2 separate regions of the Homo sapiens genome follow, and region 1 is linked to region 2. Evidence: promoter capture Hi-C in 16 types of primary human blood cells and fetal thymus (Javierre and others, 2016). All regions are on one chromosome and are shown on one strand. The core of a region is centred on a gene start or on the middle of the fragment in contact, and the rest is flanking DNA. Distances in the headings are between cores, read along the strand shown. Region 1 overlaps KCNK18 (potassium two pore domain channel subfamily K member 18). Region 2 holds the start of SPMIP5 (sperm microtubule inner protein 5).

What was found. The method cuts DNA at HindIII sites, captures the fragments that hold promoters and counts their contacts. A CHiCAGO score of 5 or more calls a contact.
Region 1: a fragment that was not itself captured here is called in contact with the fragment with the promoter of SPMIP5 in region 2 in 5 of 17 cell types (naive CD8 T cells, activated CD4 T cells, naive CD4 T cells and 2 more); the score reaches 6.1 in naive CD8 T cells.

What each region holds. Positions count from the first base shown.
Region 1 is chr10:117,199,719-117,205,428 of GRCh38, reverse strand. KCNK18 (potassium two pore domain channel subfamily K member 18) reads right to left here. Exons shown (of 3, transcript NM_181840.1): 2 at 4,142-4,270. Among named protein-coding and RNA genes, the nearest start is that of KCNK18, 5.1 kb to the right of the region's middle. The HindIII fragment of the contact is 4,991 bases long and covers 1,880-5,710 here.
Region 2 is chr10:116,666,653-116,672,091 of GRCh38, reverse strand. It overlaps SPMIP5 (sperm microtubule inner protein 5), which reads left to right and starts at 2,126. Exons shown (of 6, transcript NM_001350931.2): 1 at 2,126-2,165; 2 at 3,769-3,834. The coding sequence starts at 3,780. HSPA12A (heat shock protein family A (Hsp70) member 12A) reads left to right here. Exons shown (of 12, transcript NM_025015.3): 12 at 1-900. HSPA12A-AS1 (HSPA12A antisense RNA 1) reads right to left here and starts at 2,037. Exons shown (of 3, transcript NR_187551.1): 1 at 1,814-2,037; 2 at 1,607-1,698. The HindIII fragment of the contact is 1,303 bases long and covers 1,315-2,617 here.

The sequences.
Region 1 (5,710 bases), core at 3,126-5,625, 530 kb before region 2:
TTTTGCAATCCAAAATATGCAATATGTCACATTCCTGAAAAAGTTTAAAGGAAGCAGGTCTCAGAGAGCACACAACCCCCACAAAGGGAATGTATTAACTATTCTAATTACTGAATGCCAAAATGCATAATGGAACTCATTATTTCTTAGAATGCATTCATATATTTTGATACAATCAGTTCACTGCACTTGGCCTGTGAGTACTTAACAGCTCATGCACTTTCCTTTCTAATCCAAGAGGGATGACCCAGTTGGGAATGACGGGATTGACCGGCCTCACAGCTGTCAGGTATCCTGTGCTTAGCATTAAGGCCAGGTGCATTTCAGATGACCCAGAGATGCAGGGCAGGAAGCAGTATTACCAGAGAGACTTTCAAACACCGTTATTGATTATGGACAGTGCGGAACATTCCCCAACATCCTCTTCCAGTTGTTTGTAATTACTGGGCGGCATGATGTCCTAATTGACTCGTACAATGGGCAGTAGCATTGCCTTCTTGGAATTTAAGCCAAGCTAATGCATTTCCATTAGATCAGTGACTCACAGCCTGGACTCCCACTAGAATCACCTGGAGGGCCCTGGAAAATACTGATGTCTGGGCCTGGTCCCTAGGGATTCTGTTTGTTCTAGGGCAGGGTCCACACATGGGAGCTTGCAAAAGCTCTGCAGGTGACTCTGACATGCAGCCAGGGCACGCTTCTCAAACATTAGCACACATCAGAATCACATGGAGAACTTTCTAAACTACAGATTGCTGGGTCCCACAGCCATGGTTTCTGGCTCAGTAGGTCTAGAATGGCTCCTGAGAATTAATTTGCATTTCTATCAAGTTCCCCAGTGATGTCGATGTTACTCAGGGACCACATTTTGACAACCATTGCAATAGATCATTTCTCAATAGCGGGCAATTTTGCCCCCCAGAGGAAATTTGGCAATGCCTGGAGACTATTGTGGCTGTCATAATGGGTAGGGACAGTGGGGAAAGTGCTATTGCATCTGGTGGGTGGAGGCCAGAGATGCTGCTCAACATCCTACATTGCACAGGAGCCTCCTCTGCAGAGAATTATCCCATGCAAGAAGCTGATAGTGCTGAGGTTGAGAAATCCTGCCTCAGATGCATCTGAGGTTTTTTTCTTTTTTCTTTTTTTTTTTTTTTTGAGACTCTGCCATCCAGGCCAACTCTTGTCACCCAGGCTGGAGTGCAGTGGCGCGATCATGGCTCACTGCAGTCTCAACCTCCAGGGCTCAAGTGATGCTCCCACCTCAGCCTCCTGAGTAGCAGGGACTACAGGTGCACGTCACCACGCCCAGCTGATTTTTTTATTTTTTGTAGAGATGAGGTCTCATTGTATTTCCCAGACTGGTCTCCAACTCTCACCTGATCCTCCCAAAGTGCTGGGATTACAGGCATAAGCCAGGGCACCTGGACCAACCTAAATTCTTGAGGAGGCTAGGCATGGTGGATCAGCGTATAATCCCAGAACTTTGGGAGGCCGAGGCAGGTAGATCACCTGAAGTCAGTAGTTCAAGACCAGCCTGGCCAACATGGTGAAACCCCATTTCTACAAAAATACAAAAATTAGCCAGGCATGGCCGGGTGCAGTGGCTCACGCCTATAATCCCAGCACTTTGGAAGGCCGAGACGGATGGATCACCTGAGGTCAGGAGTTCAAGACCACACTGACCAATATGATGAAACCCCATCTCTACTAAAACTACAAAAATTAGCCATGCATGGCATGTGCCTGTAATCTCAGCTACTCGGGAGACCGAGACAGGAAAATTGCTTGAACCTGGGAGGCGGAGGTTGCAGTGAGCTGAGATGGCACCATTGCACTCCAGTCTGGGCGACAGAGCAAGACTCTGTCTCAAAAAGCTTGAGGAAAACAAAAAGACAAACTTCATAACTTCTAGCCCCTTTGCACAGTTCCGTGTCTTTCTTGGAGTTACTGCTCTCCTGGGCCTATTGTTTCCTCAAAGCATCCCCTGAGCTGTGGGTTCCCCTGGAAAGTCCAGCTTTGAGGTTTGACCTCAGCCCTGCCTGTGACTCCCTCACAGTGATTCCCTCTTAGAGCCTGTGGAATGGGATAGTCACAGCACTTACCTTGCAGGGTTGTGGTGAGAATTGCACAAGAAAAGGCTCCGAAAGCACCTGGACCCCACATCCAGCACGTGCTGAGTGGTGTAGCTGCTGTCCTTATTCTTTCTGTCCCTCACCCATCCCTGCCTGCATCAGCATTCAGGTGAACAAGGCCAGGCGCGGTGTCTCACGCCTCTAATCCCAGCATTTTGGGAGGCCGAGATGGGCAGATCACCTGAGGTCAGGAGTTCAAGACCAGCCTGGCTAACATGGTGAAACCCCCGTCTCTAGTAAAAATACTAAAATTAGCCAAGCGTGGTGGTACATGCCTGTAATCCCAGCTACTTGGGGACTGAGACACAAGAATCACTTGAACCAGGGAAGCAGAGGTTGCAGTGAGCCAAGATTGTGCCACTGCACTCCAGCAAGACTCCATCTCAAAAAAAAAAAAAAAAAAAAAAGCATTCAGGCAAATGGGAGAAACCACGTGGGGGCTGTGAGAGCCCTCCTGGGGCTGTGTGGCTATTTCTGAAGCTGGGTGCAGCAGACACCGGTTGCCCACCCAGCAGCCATTCCCTCCTTTCTTCCCTGCAGACCCACTGCTCCCCCAGCTGATTTAGGAGTAGATCCGATTGGTCTTAGTCATCCTGGTGCTCCAATCCCCTTGCCTGGGACCAGCTTAGAGGCGGCTGGGAGGCCCAGTGGGTGGCTCCTGGGAAGACATCGTCATGGCTGATGAACCATGCAGAGAGACAGCAGCCCTTTCTGTATAAGACACAGTTATGCTTGAATGGACTGTGGACCTTGGTGGCCTCTTGTGGCCCAGTGGGCAGAAGGATGGAGAAAACCTGATGCCCAATGCCATGACTGCGAATGGGCACTGGGCATGACCTGCATATCAGCCTAGAGCTGTCCTCACACTGGACTTCTTACTTGGAAGGTGACATTCTCCTTGCGGTTTAAGCCAGGCGAGTTGGGTTTTCTGTTAGTCACTGCTGAAGGCATCCTGGCTGCCACTTACATACATAGTCATCAGCTGACCCTGAGAGGCAGGTCTAGAAGTGCTTTTGGGTCCCAGTACAAGGCTCAGAGGGGCCACGTCCCTTGCTGGAGATTCCACAGCTCCAACCCAGGCTGGCCACTGTGCTCCATCCTGACCTTCAGCATGAGGGGCCCCAGCCTCTCTCTGCAACCCCTGTGGGCCAGGTCCTCCTAGGGATGGGCACTTGCTCTCTCGAAGGAGGAGAGGGCCCACAGTCCCTTTTGCCAGCCAAGAGGGGCAGGGGCTGAGTGATGGGCCACGCTCCTGGTGAGGGCTCTGACCCAAGAGCTCTGGCCCTGTGGCTGAAGGCAGCTCCATCGCCTCCTGTGTCTCCTGCCTGGCCTGGTTTGGCCCCTCCAACCTGGCCCCACTGCTGCCCCACCAGAAGGGAAGCTGGGGATGGGCCAGCCAGCTCAGAGTGAGCCCTTAATCACCAGAGGGACCTTAGTTACTGCTGACCCAGTGGCATCACGCCCCCAGCCCAGGAGGCCTAACTCTCCTGCAGCATCCCCTACCACTCTCCTGATCATTCTCTGCCCTCCAGCCACAATGGTCATGTCCTTAAAGGGGCCAGTAAACCAACGTTTTGCTCATAAGCACGAGGAAGCATCTCCCTCCCAGTTTCTATGTGCCAGGTGCATAGAAAGTTATACATAGAGGCAGCAGGGTGCTGGGTCTAGACCCAAGTGGCTGGGTTCAAACGCACATGAACTGTGCGACTTTTTGAAACTGACGGACCTGCTGGAGTGGGAACAATAACAGCACCCACCTCTTGGTGAGGATTAGATGAGCTAATCAGCATAAAGGTCTTAGAACAGGGCCTGGTGCATCTTCAGTGCAAAGGTGTCGGCCAGCGCAGCTGCTGCTATTTGTAGGTGTGCAATATAGATTTGAGGAAGGGAGGGAAGAAGAGAGGGAGAGGAGGGCCATCTCCACACCCCAATTCCAGTGTCCTTTGCCACCCAGAAACCCACCCTTCACAGGGCCACCGTGAGGGGGACTGTGGCTTTGCACTTACCCACGGTGCTGAACACCGTGCAGCAGAAAAAGAGCGAGCTCAGGAAGGACCAGTGTGTGGTCCTGTTAAACCACTGAGGCTTCACCTTCTGCAGATGCCCCTGGAGATCCTGTTTTCTGTCTTCCACCACTGGAGAAAGACATGACCAAGAGTTTGAGGAAAAGGTTCTGCTGGTAAAGACAAGCCCCGCCCCAGTGAAAGGGATAGTCTTCCCCAAGGACCAGCAGCCCCTTTGCCTTGTGGTCAGTATCAACACCAAAGCTCGGTGGTCGGAGTCCTCCTTTAAAATATTTCTGCAGCCTGGGTCCTGCCTTCAGTCCCTATGGAGATAAGGAGGCCACTTAGCCCTGTGAGAAGAGCACCTAACAGAGAGGCCCATGGGGGTCCCACCAGAGCTTAGCCCTGGCATTGCTGTGTAGTCTTTGCCTTTTAATTTTCTGAACCGCCATTTCTTTCATCTGTTTTTTTTTTTTCTTGAGACAAGAGTCTTGCTCTGTTGCCAGGCTGGAGTGCAGTGGTGTGATCTCGGCTCGCTGCAACCTCCACCTCCCTGGTTCAAGCAATCCTCTTGCTTCAGCCTCCTGCGTAGCTGAGACTACAGGGGCGTACTACCACACCCATGCCCAGCTAATTTTTGTATATTTAGTTGAGACGGGGTTTCACCTCATTGGCCAGGATGGTCTCAATTTCTTGACCTTGTGATCCACCTGCCTCAGCCTCCCAAAGGGCTGGGATTATAGGCGTGAGCCACCGCGCCCCGCCTCTATCATCTTTCAAAGGAAGATAACTTCTGCTCTGCCTCTCACACAGGGTTCTCAAGTACTAAAAGCAAAAGGCTTTTAGGAAAAGCAAGCTGTTACACAGATGCAAATCATACCCACTCCTGGAGGTCATTACGCTTGATGGAGTTTGCCGGGCACGATGGCTCACGCCTATAATTGCAACACTTTGGAGGGCTAAGGTGGGCGGATCATTTGAGGTCAGGAGTTCAAGACCAGCCTGGCCAACATGGTGAAACCCTGTCTCTACTAAAAATACAAAAATTAGCCGGGTGTGGTGGCACACACCTGTGGTCCCAGCTACTCAGGAGGCTGAGGCAGGAGAATTGCTTGAACCTGGGGAGTGGAGGTTGCAGTGAGCCAAGATCGTGCCACTGCATCCCAGCCTGAGTGACAGAGTGAGTCTCCATCTAGAAAAATAAAAATAAAAACTTGATGGAGTTTGATCATCATACCATCATACTGTGATCTTTGGGCACCAGCTACCTGTGAGTGTCTCCTACAGAGCTGGGAAAACTTGACTTCCTACACATTGGTTCCAAGGCTAACAGAGCAGGGTTGGGAACCCTGGTTTCCCAGAGAGGTTCCTGAATGGCTCGATTGGCCTGAGCCGCCAGTGGGCTTTGGGACCCAGAGGCCACCTGCTAGACTTGTTCGGCTTTAAGAGAATGGCACTGAACCTGGCATGCAGCAGGAAGTCTCTACTCCTTTTAATTGGCACCAGCCTGGGAGTCTACACACATCGATTCTAGACCCAGCTCTAACCCTGATAAGTTCTGTAACTGTGGAC
Region 2 (5,439 bases), core at 877-3,376:
TCCTGCCTTGCATTAATGCTATCTCCCTGTGTACTGTTTCTCTTAAATGAGCAGATAGAAATCTGCAGTGTTGGCAGATAGGTGATGGAGAGGATGATAATTTTATCTTCTGGCCACAGAGCTGCAGCCCCAGTTGTCAGAGTCCTTAAATGAAACCCCCAAATCCATCCCTCCTTCCCTACCCCCACTGGAATATTCTAGAATAAGAGCACTGGATAAGTACACTTGAACACATTTTTCTAACCTTAGAAAATACCTACAAGGCCTGTTGTCTTGACCCATTACTCAATTGTCCCTGGCATATTATCTGATCTTCACGTTTCTTGGAAGCAGAATCATCAAGGCTTTCCTTTGTAACTGCCCTTTCCGTACACAGCAGGCATGAATAAATGCTGAGTAACAGACAAGTTACAGACAGGAGGGGAAAGAGGAGGAACCATACAACTGTTTTTGCAAAATGATGGCTGAGTCCAGATTATAGAGGTTGCCTTACCCTTAGAATGTTATTTAGACCAAGTTTAGCTTTTAGAGTCCAGGTCTGGTTAATTGCCAGGGTAGCAAAGAATCGCATGCACCAATGTAAACAGGAGTCAGAATGCATTATTAGTCAAAGATCGAATTTCACATTGTAGAGATGTATAGCTGTGATTAAGCTGCATATGTATGCTGGGAAACGGCTTGAGTGGATGGCTAATATAAAAGTTGTTGGCCATAATGCCACACCTCTCATCTGCTTGAAATATGGACCAGTATTCTAAAATATCAGCTACTGGGGTCTCATTCACTACAAGATAAATTCAAACTTCACAGAACTTTGCAGCAGTTCACCACCAGACGGGACTGTGTCTGCAAACTCTCTTGTCTTCACAGACGCCTAATAAAGCAAAACTCTGAATCTCATGTGGCCCAGATTTTTTTTCCCCCCATCCTGGGTTTGCAAACTGCATGATGGACACGTCAGTACTGATCTCCCTCTCTACCCCATCTCAGGTGGTGGAGAGAGAGTTTCAGTTTTTTCCAGGTGCTGTAAGTTTTCTTAAGTTATTCTAACAAGACTAGGCCCTTTGTTTGCTGGGAACCAAGGCCCCATCGATGGGCACAGAGCCCCTTTTCTCTGGAAGAAAGTGGTCTAGCCAGAGGGAGGGCAGGTAAGCAGAGTGACCACTGCCAATGCCACTGCACCCCAGTGTAAGTCATTAAAACATGCAGAAGGCCTGGCTGGGCTCTTGCCCCTGGGCATCCCAGCCGTCACGTGAAACTGGCTGTGTCCAGAGCCTACACCTGAGTCGCCCTCCACAGTTGGCTCTGAAAGCTTCCTGATGGCCCGAGGTATGTTCTAAATGGGGTGATAAAAGAGAGGTATAAATGGTGGTCGGCTCCACCAGCCTTCATTTGCAGTTCAATTTTCAGAAAAGTAGAGGTAGGGAAGGCCGGGAGGTGCAGCAAACAAGCGTGTCCTGGAAGTAGCGCAGCTTCAGCGTCATTTTCTGTAAAGGGAGCAGCCAGCACATGCTGGTTCATAGGGCGGACATCTTGGTGGGTTTCAATTCAATGAGAGGAAGTCTGGGTGTCCCTCCAAGAGTGATTAGAAAGAAGGATGACTCACCTTCCCCAGGTGGACAGCCACTCCTCTCTGCCTTCACCTGTCCCGGCCACCTGAAAATCTGCCCCTCCTAACAGGAGACAGGGAGGGAGGGGCTGCCAGGCCCAGGAAGCTCCTGTATTGGAGGCGCCAGGGCCCCCAGGCCTCGCCTCCTCCCGCCCACTGCCGGCCCCGCCCCCTGTTCCCGCCCACCCGCTTCCCCGGCCAGACCTGCAGACCCAGGCGCCGCAGTGTCTACACCCGCAAAAACGCCCGCTTTGACTTAGAGCCCTCCGCATATCCTTCCCCTGGCTGGGGCAGCCAAGGCGCGGAGGACAGCTCCGAGGCCAGATGTTTACTGCGCAGATGCCCGACTTTACACCGGGGTCCGGGCTGTGCCGGGCGCTGGGGGAAGCGCCCACCTTCCAGGTGGGACCGCGGGAAGGGTGGGGGAGGGGCAGGCTGGCGGTGGTGGGGCCTTTGTGCTCCACCGGGTGAGCGCACAAAGGCCTGGTGGAAGGCAGGGATCCTGGGCGGCCGGGCAGAGGCCAAGTGGGCACCGGATAGCGCCAGCCCCGCCCAGGTGAGCGCTGAGGTGGGATTGGAAGAGGGTGGCTAGGAGGGGCCCTACTTTCTACCCACTCCTAGCCCCCTTTCTCAGGACACCGCCTTTCTTCCCACCCTCCTCCCTGCCCACCTCCTCCAGGCAGGCTTATACCCCAGCTGATGCTTTTGGGCAACATATCCTGTCCCTGAGAGTTTAGAGGTCATCTGTTCGCACCCCCTTTCACTCTGGAACCCTGAAACCAGTTACCTAACCTCTCTGTGCCTTATTTTTCACATTTATAAAATGGGGGTTCCAACAGGAACTCATTCTTAGGGAAGCTGTGGGGATTAAAGGAGAATGCGGTTCTGCTGCAACCACATGGGGATAGCCAGTGTTCCCTGTCTGTTGCCTTTTTAAATTGGGGAATGGGTATAATATAGCATTTATATCATGGGGCTGTTGAGAGGATTAAACAAGCGTGGAAAGCTTTCAGAAAAGTAAGCAGGTGGTCAGTATGGGTGGGACATGGTCTCACAGCCAGGTCTGTCTGACTCCAGGCCCAGTGCTTCCTCCCAGGAGTCAGGTACGTGATGCCAGGGGTTAGAGTGGCCTAGACGCGGCACAGTCCTCACTGCTGTCAGCCTGGCGGGGGCTGAACTGTCTTAACAATCCCCATCATTGCTGACTAAGCCATGACTGTGGCCCTCTCCTCCACCCTGAATCCTCTTCTTCCAGCCTCAAAGGCATTTCTTTAAAGAGATGAACTGGCTCAGCAGGGCAGGACTTGGCAAGGCCTCAGCCCACTTGGGGGGAATGACCAGCGATACCCAAAGAGGGAAGGTGTCTTATTGCAGAAACAGCATCCACATAAACTGATGTTTCAGTGGAGCCCCCTGAAGCAGAGGGTGGCCTCTGCTTACCCTCCTTGGACTCCATGTCTGCCTTTTGGGACTTCCTGATTCCTTCAAGCCAGAATTTCTTCTCCCTTGTTTGTGTGTGTGTGTGTGTGTGTGTGTGTGTGTGTGTGTGCATGTGTGTGCCGGCGGGTGGGGGGAGGCTTCTGAGCATTGCAGGATGTTCAGTAGCATCCCATCCCCCACTTCTGACAGCCAAATATGCCTCTGGACATTGCCAGATGTTCCAGGGGTAATGGTGGGGGCTGGCAAAAATCACCACTGCAACCTGATTTCACCTGGATCAAGAAGGAGGTCTGGGGGTGTGCGGGCCTCATCTCTCTCCTCACCTGAGGCTCATGAACCTAACACAGGGGCTTCTGGGCTTGCTCAGAAGCTTTGCATTCCCAGCCTCTATCATGTTTCACAGCCATAGTATGAGTACAGTTCACAATTGTTGGATGGCTGGAGGTCGGATGGAGGGGAGAGGAGACCCTGGTAGGTGTGATCTACACACTGTTATCCAAGTTAACATAAAAGGTGATGGGCCCTTGGTAATAGGTCATTGGTTTGTGACTGAAGCCAGCTGTGTCTCTGGCTTTGGGTAAGGTGGTAGTGCTGCCTCTCAGCCCCAACTCCTGGCAGTCATTCTTCCACTCCCAAGAGCTTGTGCACACTCAATAGTAATTCCTTAAGGCAGTGACTTTTGATGAGACCGTTTCATTCCCTCTTCCCTCCACTAACAGAGAGCGAAATCATGGAGCCTTCCAAGACCTTCATGAGAAACCTGCCAATCACACCAGGCTATAGCGGTAAGTGTGGACGTACCCTGCAGCTGTGCCTGGCAGGGGAACCCGGGTCCTGGTCACTGTCCCTGCCTTGACCCACTGTCTGTGTCTGTGCAGCCAACTGGACCAGTCTAGGCGCTCTAGCTTCTCAGACATGCATTGAGAGCATTCCATCGCTGAAGATGGCTGATGGCCGGGTTCTGAGGGGCAGAACTTAGACCACACGTCCCAGAACATGGCCTGGTATGCAGAGGAAGCACTTAATGCCTGTTGAATGAATTTGGACCAGGATAGACACAATGTGATGAGGATAGACACAATGTGATGAGGATAGACACATGAATAAGTAGAGGCCCTGTTCTCCCCAAGTTGGTTTTCTCAAGTCCTCCACAAAGGTTATTCTTGTGCTCCCATCCTTTCCTGCATCCCCTAAAGGAAGGCTGGCCAACTGCCCTGGTCTACCTGGGACTGCCTTTGTCCTGGGACTGCCTGGGACTTTCCTTAACACTGAAAATCTTGCATTTGGGAAACTCCTCAGTCCTTGGCAAACCAGGACGATTGGTTGCCCTACCTAGAGGCTATTCCTCCTCAGGCTTCTGGGCTACTGAGAACTTACTAAGTCATATCCCTGTGGGTGACAAACCCAGTGGTCCCCACAGACCCTTGGCTCTCCCATACAGCCGTTCTCAGGAGGAATAGTACTTGGGTGATATTCCAGGGTTGCCCAACCTCACTCTGGTCCTAATGGCTGGTTGAGAATAGGCTTTGGGTTCTGACAAGCTGAGGTTCGAATCTCTGTTTGGTCACTGTCGATGAGACTGTAAGTAACTTGCCTCTCTGTGGTAAGTACAACATTCTATAAAATGGATGTATTTGTTTTCTAGGACCACTGCAACAAATTACCACAAACTATGTGGTTTAAAGTGATGGAAATGCATTCCCTCACAGTTCTGAGGCCAGACGTCTGAAATCGAGGTGCCCGCAGGGCCATGCTCTTTCTGAAGGCGCTAGGGAAGGATCCCACCTTTGCTTCTTCCAGCTTCTGGTGGCCCCAGTGTTCTTGGCTTGTGGCAGCATCTCTCCAGTCACTCTCTTCATCCTCACACGGCATTTCCCCCTTTGTCTCTGTGTCACAAGTCTCTCTCTTCTTTCCTCTATAAGGACATCAGTCATCAGATTTAGGACCCACCCTAAATCCGGGATGATCTCATTTTTAGGCCCTTAACTTAATTACATCTGAGAAGTCCCTATTTGTAGATAAATGCACATTCACAGGTACCAGGGGTTAGGACTTGCATATATCTATTTGGAGGATACAGTTCAACCCACTACATGGGATACCATAAGATTGTTGTGAGGATTAAAGGAGCCAGCATACATAACCTATTTTAAATGTCTTGGTCCTTAGCGAGACTCGATAAAGGTAGTTCGTATGCTTATGTCTGTGCATATATGCACTAATATAAAACCTAGGCAGACCAAAGTCGGCCCTGATGGCAGGGAAACCACTGTGGCAAAGCCCCTAGGGTCTTCATAATGTTAGGATATCTTTTAATCATCCAAGGGTTGGGGAGTCTGGGCGATGCATGGAAGGCTTCCAACACTGTCAAGATTAGTTTAGTAATTAGG